2 separate regions of the Homo sapiens genome follow, and region 2 is linked to region 1. Evidence: promoter capture Hi-C in human tissues and cell types (Jung and others, 2019). All regions are on one chromosome and are shown on one strand. Each heading gives the region's core, a stretch centred on a gene start or on the middle of the fragment in contact. The rest is flanking DNA. Distances are from core to core; before and after follow the strand shown. Region 1 holds the start of SNX32 (sorting nexin 32). Region 2 overlaps LOC105369350 (a long non-coding RNA gene).

Region 1 (6,920 bases), core at 1,787-4,286:
GGGGTGAGGATACAGGTTGAGTTAGGGAGTGGTAGCAAACAGGTAATTTACATAGAAAAAAACACTATCTATAGAATTAAAAGAAAAGAACAAAAAGACTTATAAATAGCAATACTTGGAAGTTAGAAGATAGTGAGGGAATTAGCCAGGCATGGTGGCACATGTCTGTAATCCCAGCTACTTGGGAGGCTGAGACAGGAGAATCGCTTGAGCCTGGGAGGCAGAGGTTGCAGTGAGCCGAGATTGCGCCACTGCACACTCCAACCTGGGCAACAGAGCAAGACTGTCTCAAAAAAAAAAAAGAAAAAAGAAAAAGAAAGAAAGAAAGAAAGAAAAGAAAAGAAAAGAAAAGGAAATAATGAAGGACATACCAACAAACACAATCACCATTATGGCACGTGGCTTCTTATGTTTTTTCTCACTTCTTTCTTATCTCCTCTCTTGCTTTTGTCACTTGGGAGCCCTTCATTCTTCAGGCTCCTCTTTCAGAAATTTTGCCCACTTCAGTCTGCACCTTCTTCCACAACTCTCAAAATCTACCCTTTATCCTGCTGCAATTCTCCATCTCATAGACCCCATTTAGTGTCAGACTAAATCCTTCTAGCCCATCCTCCATCCTTTTCTCAAACATTTCCCTATGAGCTCCCAGTCACACCTTTTCTCCCAATATCCAAGTGTCCTCTGTCAACACATTACCAAGTCTTCTCTTTCTCCTCCATATGTTCCCACTTCCCTCTGAACCAGAGACTCCTCTTTGCTTCCTTTGATCCTGGCCTCCGCCTTCAGCCCCAGAAGCTCTTTTCCTCACTTCCACTCTCTTTTATTTTAGGCTCAGACTCTCTCCTTTCCTTTCTCAACTTTACCCCTTCAGTGTCAATAATGTTCTGTCTGGCTCTAATTTCTCCTCTGACTTTCAGTACTTCTCCTGTCTGCCTCTTTCCTTCTTTGGTGTCAATCCTTCATCTGCCTCATTCACTGGTACCTTCACCTATAATATCTTTTTTTTCCATAGAAACAGATTCATCAGTGATATCTTTCACTTCACTCAAGATGCCCCCCTCAACTCCCACTCCTTTCTCAGTCCCTTGTAGTTCCTCACTCCCTTTGACACTTTCAAAAGGAATTTCCATCTCATCATGAGTAAATGCCATCACTCTTTCATCGCCAGTAACTTCTACCACTTTTTCAATGTTCTTCTCATTTATGCTCCCCATTCTTGAACCCTCCAATTTCTCCCCGCTGGTCCCTAACTTCTCCTCACTAGATCTCAGCTTCTCCGCACTTGACCCCAGCTTCTCTCCACTCAACCTCAGCTTCTCTCTGCTTGATCTCAGCTTCTCTCCACTGGTTCCCAGCTTCTCTCTGCTTGATCTCAGCTTCTCTCCACTCAACCTCAGCTTCTCATCACTTGTTCCCAGCTTCTCTCCACTCAATCTCAGCTTCTCTCTGCTTGATCTTAGCTTCTCTCCACTCAACCTCAGCTTCTCTCTGCTTGATCTTAGCTTCTCTCCACTCAACCTCAGCTTCTCATCACTGGTTCCCAGCTTCTCTCCACTCAACCTCAGCTTCTCTCTGCTTGATCTCAGCTTCTCTCCACTCAACCTCAGCTTCTCTCCACTCAACCTCAGCTTCTCATCACTGGTTCCCAGCTTCTCTCCACTCAACCTCAGCTTCTCTCTGATTGATCTCAGCATCTCTCCACTCAACCTCAGCTTCTCATCACTGGTTCCCAGCTTCTCTCCACTAGTTCCCAGCTTCTCTCCACTCCATCTCAGCTTCTCTCTACTTGATCTCAAATTCTCTCCACTTGATCTCAGCTTTCTGCCACTGGACCTCAGCTTCACTCCACTGGACCCCTGCTTCTCTCCCCTGCACACCAGCTTCTCACTAGTAGACCTCAGCTTCTCTACACTTGATCTCATCTTGTCTACACTAGACCTCAACCCCTTCTCATCCTGTCCCAGTTTATATCCATTGGATCTCAAGTCCTCTCCACTGGTCCCTACCTTCTCCCCAGCAGACCTCAACCTCTCTTCAAACCCAGACCCCTTCATAGGCCCTGCTGTCATCCCTGCACTCTTAGATTTAGCCTTTATTTCGTGTTTGACCTCTTGCTTTCCCCAAATACCCCTTGGGCTGTCTTTCCCCAAATCTGCTGAAGCTTGTGATGCACTTGCTCCACGGTATAGCAGCTTCACATCCATCCTTTCCTGACTCGGGCCTGACTTCCCTTTCAAGACCGTCTTTTCCACATCTTCCAGTCTCCAGTACTCAGACTCCAGCTTCGGCTTTCGAGTGTTTCTAGTCAGGAGCTCCACTCTCTTCCCAATTACCATGAGCCCGTTCCAAGGTCCCCAGGTTTTCTCTCGCAGCATCGGCACCCCCTTGCAGCCCCGCTCCAGTGGCGACCGTTCGCGGACCCCGGCCTCGCTTGGGGCGCCCTGGCCGCGGGACTTGTGGAGCTCCCTAGTCCTCCTAGGCTGCTTACCCCGCCGCTCCCTCCCGTCCAAGAGCGGAAACCTAAACAGACCCCCCTTCTCCACAGACATTGTCCCCTGCCCTCGCCCCTGGTCCACCACCCACATCCCCACCACTGCTTCCCATTCCCTGTCCCCACCCTGCCACCCTCACCCTCTTCCCCTTCCCCTTCCCCTTCCCCACTGCCTGGTGGGCGCCAAACTGGGCGAGTGCGCACGCGCAGGCCGCACGTGGCCGTTGGAAGGAGGGGCCCGGAACGGCGGCACGGGGTTGTTGTGGGGGTCAGTCCCCCGGGGACTGGAGGGAGACGCGGCACGCGGCCTCTGCGACCCTATGAACTCTGACCCCAGCTCCCACACTGTCGCCTATCACCGGCCCACTCTCCGTGCCGCGTGTCCCTTAAAAGCTGGGGCCTGGGACAGGAACGACAGACAATGCAGCCAATGGCGTCACGCGCGGTGCCCCGCTACCCAATCGAAAGGCGTGGCTGAGGGAAACGCGGTGGGAACCGCCCCCGACTCCAGGCGACTCCTTGGCCGGGCGGGGGAGAGCGTCCCCGTCAGCTGAGAGCATCCTCACTCGGTCAGTTCCTCGGGCGAGTTACGGGGACGACCTGCGGGAGCACGCGGGCAGTGGCCGGACGCTGAAGCCCAGGAGAGCGATGGAGACGTATGCGGAGGTTGGGAAGGAGGGCAAGGTAGAGAAAGGATGAAGACCCCCACCCCAGCCTCCCCTCACTCCATGAAAGCCCGTGATGCCCAATCATGCGGTGGTGTGTGTGTGTCTGTGTGTGTGTGGTCTGCCTCTGTGTGTTTCTGTGTGTGTCTGTGTGTGTATAGTCTGCATGTGTCTGTTTCTCTGTGTGTCTGTGTGTATGTCGATGTGCCTGCATATGTCTGTGTGTGTGTGTATCTGTGTATGTCTGTATTTGTGTCTCTGTGTGTCTGTGTGTCTGTGTGTGTCTCAGTGTGTGTCTGTGTCTTTGTGTGTCTCTGTGTATCTGTGTGTGTGTCTGTGTGTCTCCGTGTCTCTGTGTGTGTGTGTATGGCCTGTGTGTGTCTGTGTGTGTGCACGTATGCGTCCATGTGGGTGTTTGTGCGTGCATGTCTGTGTCTGTCTCTGTGTGTGTCTGTGCATGTCTGTGTGTGTGTGTCTGTGTGTCTGTGTCTGTGTATGGTCTGCGTGTGTCTTTGTGTCTGTGTCTGTCTGTGTGTATGGTCTGCATGTGTGCATGTATGCATCTGTGTGTGTCTCTGTGTGTATCTGTGTGTGCACGCATGTGCCTGTGTGTGTCTGCGCAGGTCTGTGTCTCTTTGTGTCTGAGTGTGTGTCTGTCTCTGTGTCTATGTATGGTCTGCGTGCATCTTTATGTCTGTGTGTGTGTGTCTCTGTGTGTGTGTATGGTCTGCGTGTGTCTGTGTGTGTGTGTCTGTGTATTTCTGGGTCTGTGTGTGTGTTTGCATGTGTCTGTGTGTGTCTGTATCCGTGTGTCTTTGTATATCTGTGTGTGTCTATGTCAGTGTGTCTGTGTGTGCATCTGTGTGTGTCTGTGTGCCTGTGTATGATCTGTGTATGTCGTTGTGTGTGTCTGTGTGTGTGTTTCTCTGTGCCTGTGTGTTTGTGTGTGTCTGTGTATCTGTGTGTGTTTCTATGTGTGTCTGTGTGTGCGTGTGTCTGTGTTTGTCTCGTGTGTCTGTGTGTGTGTATGTGCCCATGTGTCTCTGTGTGTATGTGTGTGTCTGCGCAAGTGAGAGAAAGGAGACTTGAGCAAGGGAGTGGGGAGCCTCTGTGGCACCTGTGTGCGGACTGATGAGGATGCCAAGGGAGGCAGGGTTTTGCCTTTGTCCTTACAGATGGAAAGGGACCCGTCACTGTCACTCTTACCCTCCCCAAGACCAACTCAGGCTGTCTTGATGGGGGTAGGTGGGTAGGGGGTGGGAGGTGAGGGCGGGGAGGAGGGCAGGATGTTAGGGATTGAGCAGAGGCTGGCATCCTCTTCTCCTTTCCCAAGGCGAGAGAATCCTGTTCAGCCCTAATGGCTTCACTTGTGTTCTGAGTTCATGTAATGATAAGACCATTTCTTCCTTTTGACTTCCTTCAGCAAAGAGTTGTCGAGCATCCACGTTGTGCCAAGGATGGTTAGAGCATGGAGAGGTGCACCCTTTTGGGAGATGGAGGCATATGCATAGTGGGCCGTGGCTGAGGATGAGGATGGAGCAGCTGTGGTCCACCTTTGAGGCCCATCTCCCTCAAGCAGCTACCAAGCAGTGTAGGTCAGAGTAGAGATACTAAGGCAGGAGGAAAGAGGCTGGGGACTAGGGGACCTGCTGCACCAGTTAGCCAGACTGCATGTGTTTGGGGTCTGGGGCAAGGGGAGAGCCTGCCTTGGGAGTGTCAGAGAAGCCAAGAAATGAGGAGCGGGGTTCAAGTGGTTTAGAGGGGCAAGAGGGGCTGAGAGACACAAAGCATGGAACAGAATGGTCTGCTTCAATGTTTATCTATGTATGTTCATCTTCATGGTTAAAGGAGTTAACATATATAAAATGCTTAGGGCATATACATGAAATGGTTAGAGTGGTGCCTAGCATATTGTAAGGGCCAACATAAGGGTTAGCTATTATATTATTATTATTGTTATATTATTTTTGCTGTATGTTCTGAGGATGTGCTGAGCTATTGAACAGATGGATGCACCCCCCAGCCTTTGCAGGAGCCATACTCTGAAAGTTCACTACCAGTACTTATCCTCTAGGTTAGGTGTTGCCTTCTCTAAGATCTTCCTTTAAATATAGAGACATTAAAAGAATATATAAGCAAAAATATAATAGAGGAGAAAATGAAATAATATAAAATACTGGCCAGGCGTGGTGGCTCAAGCCTGTAATCGCAGCACTCTGGGAGGCCAAAGCAGGCAAATCACTTGAGGTCAGGAATTCAAGACTAGCCTGGCCAACATGGTGAAACCCCATCTCTACTAAAAATACAAAAAATTGGCCAGACGTGGTGGTGCGCACCTGTAATCCCAACTACTTGGGAGACTGAGACAGGAGAATAGCTTGAACCCAGGAGGCAAAGGTTGCAGTGAGCCAAGATCGCACCATTGAACTCTAGCCTGGGCAACAGAGCGAGAATCTGTCTCAAAAATAAATAAATAAACCCAGAGGATTATAAATAATTATACTATAAAGACACATGCACACGTGTTTGTTGCAGCACTATTTACAATAGCAAAGACTTGGAACCAACCCAAATGCCCATCAATGATAGACTGGATAGAGAAAATGTGGCACATATACACTATGGAATATTATGTAGCCATAAAAAAGAATATCATGTCCTTTCCAGGGACCTGGATGAAGCTGGAAGCCATCATTCTCAGCAAACTAATACAGGAACATAAAACCAAACACCACACGTTCTTACTCATAAGTGGGAGTTGAACAATGAGAACACATGGACACAGGGAGGGGAACAATACACACTGTGGCCTGTGGGGGGCTGGGGGGTAAGGGGAGGGACAGCATTAGGACAAATACCTAATGCATGTGGGGCTTAAAACCTAGATGACGGGTTGATAGGTGCAGCAAACCAGTATGGCACATGTATACCTGTGTAACAAACCTGCACATTCTGTAAATGTATCCCAGAACTTAAAGTAAAATTTAAAAATTAAAATAAACAAATAAAAGAAATAATATAAAATACTATTTAAATAATCCAAAAGAGGACAAGAAAGAAAGAATACAGGAATAAAAACAGATGGGACAAAGAGAAAGCAAAAAGCAAGATGACAAGTTGGTAGCCTGCTACATCAGTAATTACAATGATTATGAATGGACTAAATTCTCCAATTTAAAAAAATATTGTCAGATTGTATTTTGGAAAAAAAACAACTAGAGTTTGTTAAAAGAGACATATTTTAAATATAAGGACACAGAAGGGTTGACATAAATGGGTGGGAGCTGGGCATAGTGATGCACACCTGTGGTCCCAGCTATGTGGGAGGCAGAGGTAGGAGGATTGCTTGAGCTCAGGATTGTTTGAGGTTACAGTGAGCTGTGATTGTGTCACTGCACTCCAACCTGGGACACAGAGTAAGACCTTGTCTTTAAAACAAAACAAAACCAAAAAAGGGCCAGGCACAGTGGCTCACACCTGTAATCCCAGCATTTTGGGAGGTCAAGGTGGGCAGATCACTTGAGGTCAGGAGTTCGAGACCAGCCTGGCCAACAGAGCGGACCCCCATCTCTACTAAAAATACAAAAATTAGCTGGGCATGGTGCCACACATCTGTAATCCCCACTACTCAGGAGGCTGAGGCAGGAGAATGGCTTGAGCCCGGGAGATGGAGGTTCCAGTGAGCCAAGATCTCGCCACTGTACTCCATCCTGGGCAACAGGGCAAGACTCTCTCAAAAAAAAAAAAAAAAAAAACGAAGAAGA
Region 2 (6,920 bases), core at 3,272-5,771, 110 kb after region 1:
GTTTATGCCAAGACCTTACACTCTCAGCCTTGGATAAGTAGGCCAGAGAGATTCTCATTCAGGTGTACAAAGAGGCATGTGCAGCGGTGTTGACCACGGTGTTCTTTGTGAGAACAGGACTTGGGAGCCAGTCTGGCATCCATTGTCAGAAGGATGAATTAAGTAAAGCATACAAAGGGAAACTACGGAACACTATGCAACAGTCAGGATCTACAAGGCTTTTAAAACACAGTGCGGGCCAGGCACAGTGGCTCACGCCTGTATTCCCAGCACTTTGGGAGGCCGAGACGGGCGGATCACCTGAGGTCAGCAGTTCAAGACCAGCCTGGCCAACATGGTGAAACCTGGTCTCTACTAAAAAATAAATACAAAAATTAGCTGGGTATGGTAACGCAAGTCTGTAATCCCAGCTACTTGGGAGGCTGAGGCAGGAGAATTGCTTGAGCCCGGGAGGTGGAGGTTGCAGCGAGCTAAGATTGCACCACTGCACTCCAGCCTGGGCAACAAAGCGAGACTCTGTCTCAAAAAAAAAAAAAATCAAAAAACAAAAAACAAAAACAAAAACCACAGTGTTAGCAGCGGAGGGTGGCATGTGCCCATAATCCCAGATACTTGGGATGCTGAGGCGGGAGGATCTCTTGACCCCAGGAGTTTGAGGCCAGCCTGGGCAATATGAGACCTTGTCTCTAAAAACAAAACGATGGGGCATGGTGATTCATGCCTATAATTCCAGCTTTTTTTTTTTTTTTTTGAGAAGGAGTCTCGCTCTGTTGCCCAGGCTGGAGTGCAGTGGCATGATCTTGGCTCACTACAAGCTCTGCCTCCCGGGTTCACGCCATTCTCTGGCCTGAGCCTCCCGAGTAGCTGGGACTACAGGCGCCCGCCACCATGCCCGGCTAATTTTTTGTATTTTTAGTAGAGACGGGGTTTCACCATGTTAGCTAAGATGGTCTCAATCTCCTGACCTCGTGATCCTCCCTCTTCGGCCTCCCAAAGTGCTGGGATTACAGGCGTGAGCCACCGCGCCCAGCCTAATTCCAGCTTTTATTTATTTATTTATTTATTTCTGAGATGGAGTCTTGTTCTGTCACCCAGGCTGGAGTGCAGTAGTGTGATCTCAGCTAGCTGCAACCTCTGCCTGGGTTCAAGTGATTCTCCTGCTTCAGCCTCCTGAGTTAGCTGGGACTACAGGTGTGTGCCACCATGCCCGACTAATTTTTGTATTTTTAGTAGAGACGGGATTTCACAGTGATGGCCAGGCTTGTCTTGAACTCCTGACCTCAAGTAATCCACCTGCCTCGGCCTCCCAAAGTGCTGGGATTACATGCATAAGCCACCTTGCCCAGCCTGATTCTAGCATTTTGAGTAGGCTTAAGCGGGAGGAGTCCTTGAGGCCAGGAGTTCAAGATTAGCCTAGGCAGCATAGTGAGACCTCTGTCTCTCCAAAACTAATTTTTTTTTAAAGTAGCCAGGCATGGTGGCACATGCCTGTAGTCCAAGCTACTCAGGACGTTGTGGTTGTGGTAGAGGATCACCTGAGCCCAGGAGTTCGAGGCTGCAGTGAGCTATAATCACACCACTGCACTCCAGCCTGGGTGACAGAGTGAGGCCTTATCTCTAGAAAATAAAATAAATTTTAAAAACCCTAAAGCACAGTTTTGAAGGAAACGAGTAAGGAACAAAAATGAGATCAATACTGCTTATGCAAATTAAATACATACAATACCATTTATTTATTTTTATACTTAGTTTTATTTTTTATGTTTTTCTTGAGACAGGGTTTCACTCTGTCACCCAGACTGGAGTGCAGTGGTGTGATCATAGCTCATTGCAGCCTCAACCTCCTGGGCGCAGGTGATCCTCCCGCCTCAGCCTCCCGAGTAGCTGGAACTACAGGGACACGCCACCATGCCCAGCTAATTTCTTTGTATATTTTTGTGGAGCTGGGGTTTCACCATGTTTCTCAGGCTGGTCTCCAACTCCTGAACTCCAGCAATCCACCTACCTTGACCTCCCAAAGTGCTGGGATTACAGGCGTGAGCCACTGCACCCGGACCACAATACCACTTACATAAACAAAAAATACATACACACAAAAATGATAAAAGCTTCACAATGATCCGTTAACATCTTTCTTTCTTTCTTTTTCTTTCTTTCTTTCTTTCTCTCTCTCTTTCTTTCTTTCTCTCTTTATTTATTTATTTTTTTCAGAGTCTTGCTCTGTTGCCCAGGCTACAATGCAGTGGCATGTTCTCAGCTCACTGCAACATCTGCCTCCCATGTTCAAGCAATTCTCCTGCCTCAACCTCCTGAGTAGCTGGGATTACAGGCACGTGCCACCACGCCTGGCTAATTTTTGTATTTTTAGTAGAGATGGGGTTTCACCATGTTGGCCAGGCTGGTTTCGAACACCTGACCTCAAGTGATCCACCTGCCTCGGCCACCCAAAGTGCTGGGATTACAGGCATGAGTCACCACGCCCAGCCTATTCACATTTAAATAGGATGGAGCGGGGATCAAAGATGAAGAAGAAAATACAAAGGCAAAACAAGAGTCGCATTGCATCCATTGATGCTTTTTGTATGCTGTGAAATAAGGAATACAATAAACTCAGCTATCTGCTCCCCAGGACTAATGCAGAAGAGAAATGTGCAAAGGACATGGACAGGAATTCACAGAGGTAGCACAAATGGTCCATGGAGATAGGAAAATACTTGAACCTCACAAATAATGAAGGTGTGGAGACAAAAATGACCCCATCTTAGACGTGAATCCGCCATGCTGACTTCTGAATAGCTGCAGTCCCGTGAATACCTCCTGATTCCTACTCTATTTACTGCCCTTAGCATAAGACTATGTCCACCTTGATGTTATCACACCAATTATAGGCTATAACGTATGCAGATTCTTGCCTGTTCTGGAGGGCTGCCTTTAATTGTCTTGCACAGAACACTCATACCCTTTCCCTATGGTACATAAGCCTTGGCTCTAGGATGACAGGCACGGAGATCTGTTTGTCTCGTGGCTGCCCAAGACCAAGCTTGTCTGTAAGGTCACCCAAATAAATCACCCTGTACCAGCAAACTGGATTTGTCTGCCTTGTTCTTTGGTTTCTCTGCTCCTTCAGCATTCGGGAGCTGCCTTGCATATCTGGCCCTTTCATGAAAGAGAAGAGAATACAAGTTATTGCAACAATGCAATAATAGCTTTTCATCTATCAGATTAGCAAAGTGAAAATTATAATTGCTGGTGAGGGTATAAATACTGTTGATGGAAATCTATAATGATTGAGCCTTTAGGGGGAATAATTAGGCACCATCAAGATCTAAATGGCTTAGAGCTAGCTAGTTTGCTTATAGAACATTACCTTGCAGAAATCTCAAGACACATTTCCAGGGATGTCCGCAGCTGCAGTGTCTGGAGTGAGGACGCAAGCGGAAGCAGTCCCGGTGTTTGACAAAAGGACACAGGTGATGTACATTAGGTGGGTCAGACAGCCAAACAGTGATGATGGTAAAGACTGGGTGGCTCTGTATGTCCTGACATGGAAAGAATATAACATTCTAGTAGGCAAAACCAGGATGATCTCATTTTTGTTGAAAAATATGTATATGTAGGTTTGTATACACACACACACACACACACACACACACACACACACACACGTCTATCTCTAAAATCACAAGATATTCAAATGGTACACTGGCTCAGGTCTTGGTTTTGCATCGGAGGCCAAGGACAAAGCAATAGCCCCAGGGCCCTGCATTGCTAATCAGGTGCCAGGCCCCCTTGCAGTGAGGACAGGACACTCCTGACCTCAAGTGATCCACCCACCTCAGCCTCCCAAAGTGCTGGGATTACAGGCGTGAGCCACCGCGCCCGGCCCAGACTAGACATTTCAATTTCAATTTCTGAGGCTGTTCTTAGTGATCAGAGGACTTTTCACTACCTGAGGTGACTTGAGAAGTCATAGTGCCTGCTCACGTCTTATCCAGGCCTGGGAACGGCTTGGCCCAAGGGGGAGTGGGTGGGTGGAAAAGGATGCAGCTGTCTCTGTCCGAATGCTGCACCCCGCCTTGCTCAGGGTGTCAGTTCCACATTTGTTTGTGCTCACAGGGGAAAAACACGGGCCAAATACACACCCAAAAGTTAACAGCAGTTCTACTGCACAGATTTAATTTTTTTTTAGACAGAGTTTTACTCTTGTTGCCCAGGCTGGAGTGCAGTGGTACGATCTCGGCTCACTGCAACCTCTGCCTCCCTGATTCAAGCGATTCTCCTGCCTGAGCCTCCCAAAGTAGCTGGGATTACAGGCGCCTGCCACCACACCCTGGTAATTTTTTTGTATTTTTAGCTGAGACGGGGTTTCATCATGTTGACCAGGCTGGTCTCGAACTCCTGACCTCAGGTGATCCACCTGCCTCAGCCTCCCAAAGTGCTGGGATTACAGCTGTGAGCCACTGCACCTGGTCATATTTAAATTTTTGACAGTGTGCATATATTACTTCTATTATCTGAAGAACCAATAAAGATGTTTTCTATCTGTACATGTATTTATTATTTTATTGTATTGTATTTCATTTTATTTTATTTTATTTTATTTTATTTTTTGAGACAGTCTCATTCTGTTGCCCAGGCTGGAGTGCAGTGGTGTGATCTTGGCTCACTGCAGCCTCCACCCCCTGGGTTCAAGCAATTCTCCCATCTCAGCCTCCCGAGTAGCTGGGACTACAGGCATGCACCTCCATGCCCGGCTAATTTTTTTGTATTTTAAGTAGAGACAGGGTTTATCCATGTTGCTTGGGCTGGTCTCAAACTCCGGTGCTCAAGCCATCCTCCTGCCTCAGACTCTCAAAGTGCTGGGATTACAGGCGTGAGCCACTACTCCAGGCTCCCATTGCAGGTTTTAAGCAGAAGTCTTTAAAAAATGGCCCAAGCTGGCCGGGCTCGGTGGCTTACGCCTGTAATCCCAGCACTTTGGGAGGCAGAGGCGGGTGGATCATGAGGTCAGGAGATCGAGACCATCCTGGCTAACACAGTGAAACCCCGCCTCTACTAAAAATACAAAAAATTAGCCGGGCATGGTGGCGGGCGCCTGTAGTCCCAGCTACTCGGGAGGCTGAGGCAGGAGAATGGCGTCAACCCAGGAGGCGGAGCTTGCAGTGAGCCGAGATTGCGCCACTGCACTCCAGCCTGGACGACAGAACAAGAGACTCCATCTCAAAAAAAAAAAAAATGGCCCAGGCTGCTGGGTTGGGAATTGACCATGAAGAAGCAGAAAGTCTATGTAGAAGACAACGGATGTTGAGAATGCTCCAAATAGCTGGTGGTAAGCGTTCAGATTCTGAATGCACTTTGAAATCAGGAACAACTGTTGGATAGGACATAGCATTTCAGAGAGAGAAAAGCCTAGGCTTTTGGTTCGAGAAACTAGAAGGATAGCATAGTCACTAGGCCAAGATGGAGAGGGCTGTGGGGAGGGTCAGGGAGTCAGTTTCAGAGTTGTTGAATGTGAGATGCCTGTTAGACACCTAGATGGAGCAGTGGACTGGGTCATTCGAGTTTGGGAGGCAGGACTCACCTTCTGAGCTTGAGGGAGATGTCTGGACTACAGATAAAAGTGGGGTTCATTGTCTGATAGATTTTATTTAAAATGAGCCTGTCATGCCTGTAATCCCAGCACTTTGGGAGTCTGAAGCAGGAAGATCTCTTGAGCCCAGGGGTTCAAGACCAGCCTGTGCAACATGGCTAGACGTTGTCTCTACAAAAAATACAAAAAATCAGCTGGGCATGGTGGTGCACACCTTTAGTTCCAGCTGCTCAGGAGGCTGAGGCGGGAGTGTCACTTGAGCCCAGGAGGTCGAGGCTGCAGTGAGCCATGATCACGCAACTGCACTCCAGTCAGTCTAGGTGACAGAGTGAGACCTTGTCTCAAAAAAAAAAAAAAACAACCAAAAACCCAAAAACACAAAACCATGGTCCTGGTGAGTCCAGTAAAAGAGGAGCTGTGGCCGGGCGTGGTGGCTCATGCCTGTAATCTCAGCACTTTGGAGGCCGAGGCGGGCGGATCACGAGGTTAGGAGTTCGAGACCAGCCTGGCCAACATAGCGAAACCCCGTCTCTACTAAAAATACAAAAATTAGCCAGGCATGGTGGTTTGCGCCTGTAGTCCCAGCTACTTCGGAGGTTGAGGCAGGAGAATCACTTGAACCTGGGAGGCGGAAGTTGTGGTGAGTCAAGATCTCACCACTGCACTCCAGCCTGGGCAACAGAGTAGCTGTGGACAAAGAAGACAGACGGGGCAGCTGTCCCTCTCCTGCAAGAGGAGGAGGAACTGGCAGAGGAGCTGGGGAAGAGCTGGCCACTGACCTCATGTTAGTGGGAGGGAAGGCATCGGTGATTTTGGCAGGTGCAGGCTCACAGGGTGGTGGGGGTGACAGCCTGCCTGGAGTGGGTTCAAGAAAGAAAGGCAAGGGGGAAATTGACCTTGCCCAGTGAAAACTCTTTCAGAAGGCTTTGCTGCAAAGGGAACACAGAAATGGGGCAGTGTTGAAGAAGGGGAAGTGAGTCAAGAAAGAAGGAACAGTAGTGCTGATGGAAATGATGCCAGAGAGATGAGACATTGCTGATGCAGGAGAGAGTGGGAGGACGGCCGGAGCCACATCGCTGAGCAGGCAATCAGCAAATGAATGAATGTGTGTGAAGCGGTGATAAGAGAAGCAGAGCAAATGGTGGTGCCTATTAGGGACTTAGGGGATCTGGGCAGGGAGGGCTTCTTTGGCAGGTGTCATTTTAGCAGAAACCTAGAGGTCCTGAAGGAGTAAGCCATGTGGATTCTGGGGAGAGAGCATTTCAGGAAGAAGAAACAGTCGGTGCAAAGGGCCTTAGGGCAGACTGGCTGGCGTACCGAAGGGAGAGTG

The links. The method cuts DNA at HindIII sites, captures the fragments that hold promoters and counts their contacts. A contact is called where the count stands out against the background at its distance.
Region 2: a fragment that was not itself captured here is called in contact with the fragment with the promoter of SNX32 in region 1 in 3 of the 25 tissues and cell types used here (bladder, lymphoblastoid cells and mesenchymal stem cells).

Annotation. Positions count from the first base shown.
Region 1 is chr11:65,830,927-65,837,846 of GRCh38, forward strand. It overlaps SNX32 (sorting nexin 32), which reads left to right and starts at 3,037. Exons shown (of 13, transcript NM_152760.3): 1 at 3,037-3,175. The coding sequence starts at 3,140. It overlaps LOC124902693, which reads right to left and starts at 2,873. Exons shown (of 7, transcript XM_047427980.1): 1 at 372-2,873. The coding sequence starts at 2,585. The coding sequence ends at 969. RefSeq lists silencers at 2,589-2,718, 2,892-3,104 and an enhancer at 3,029-3,118. The HindIII fragment of the contact is 13,089 bases long and covers 338-6,920 here.
Region 2 is chr11:65,934,941-65,941,860 of GRCh38, forward strand. LOC105369350 (a long non-coding RNA gene) reads right to left here. Exons shown (of 3, transcript XR_950212.3): 2 at 3,368-3,539; 3 at 2,852-3,156. Among named protein-coding and RNA genes, the nearest start is that of TSGA10IP, 7.1 kb to the right of the region's middle. RefSeq lists enhancers at 2,297-2,821, 6,078-6,577 and a silencer at 6,548-6,771. The HindIII fragment of the contact is 3,895 bases long and covers 2,575-6,469 here.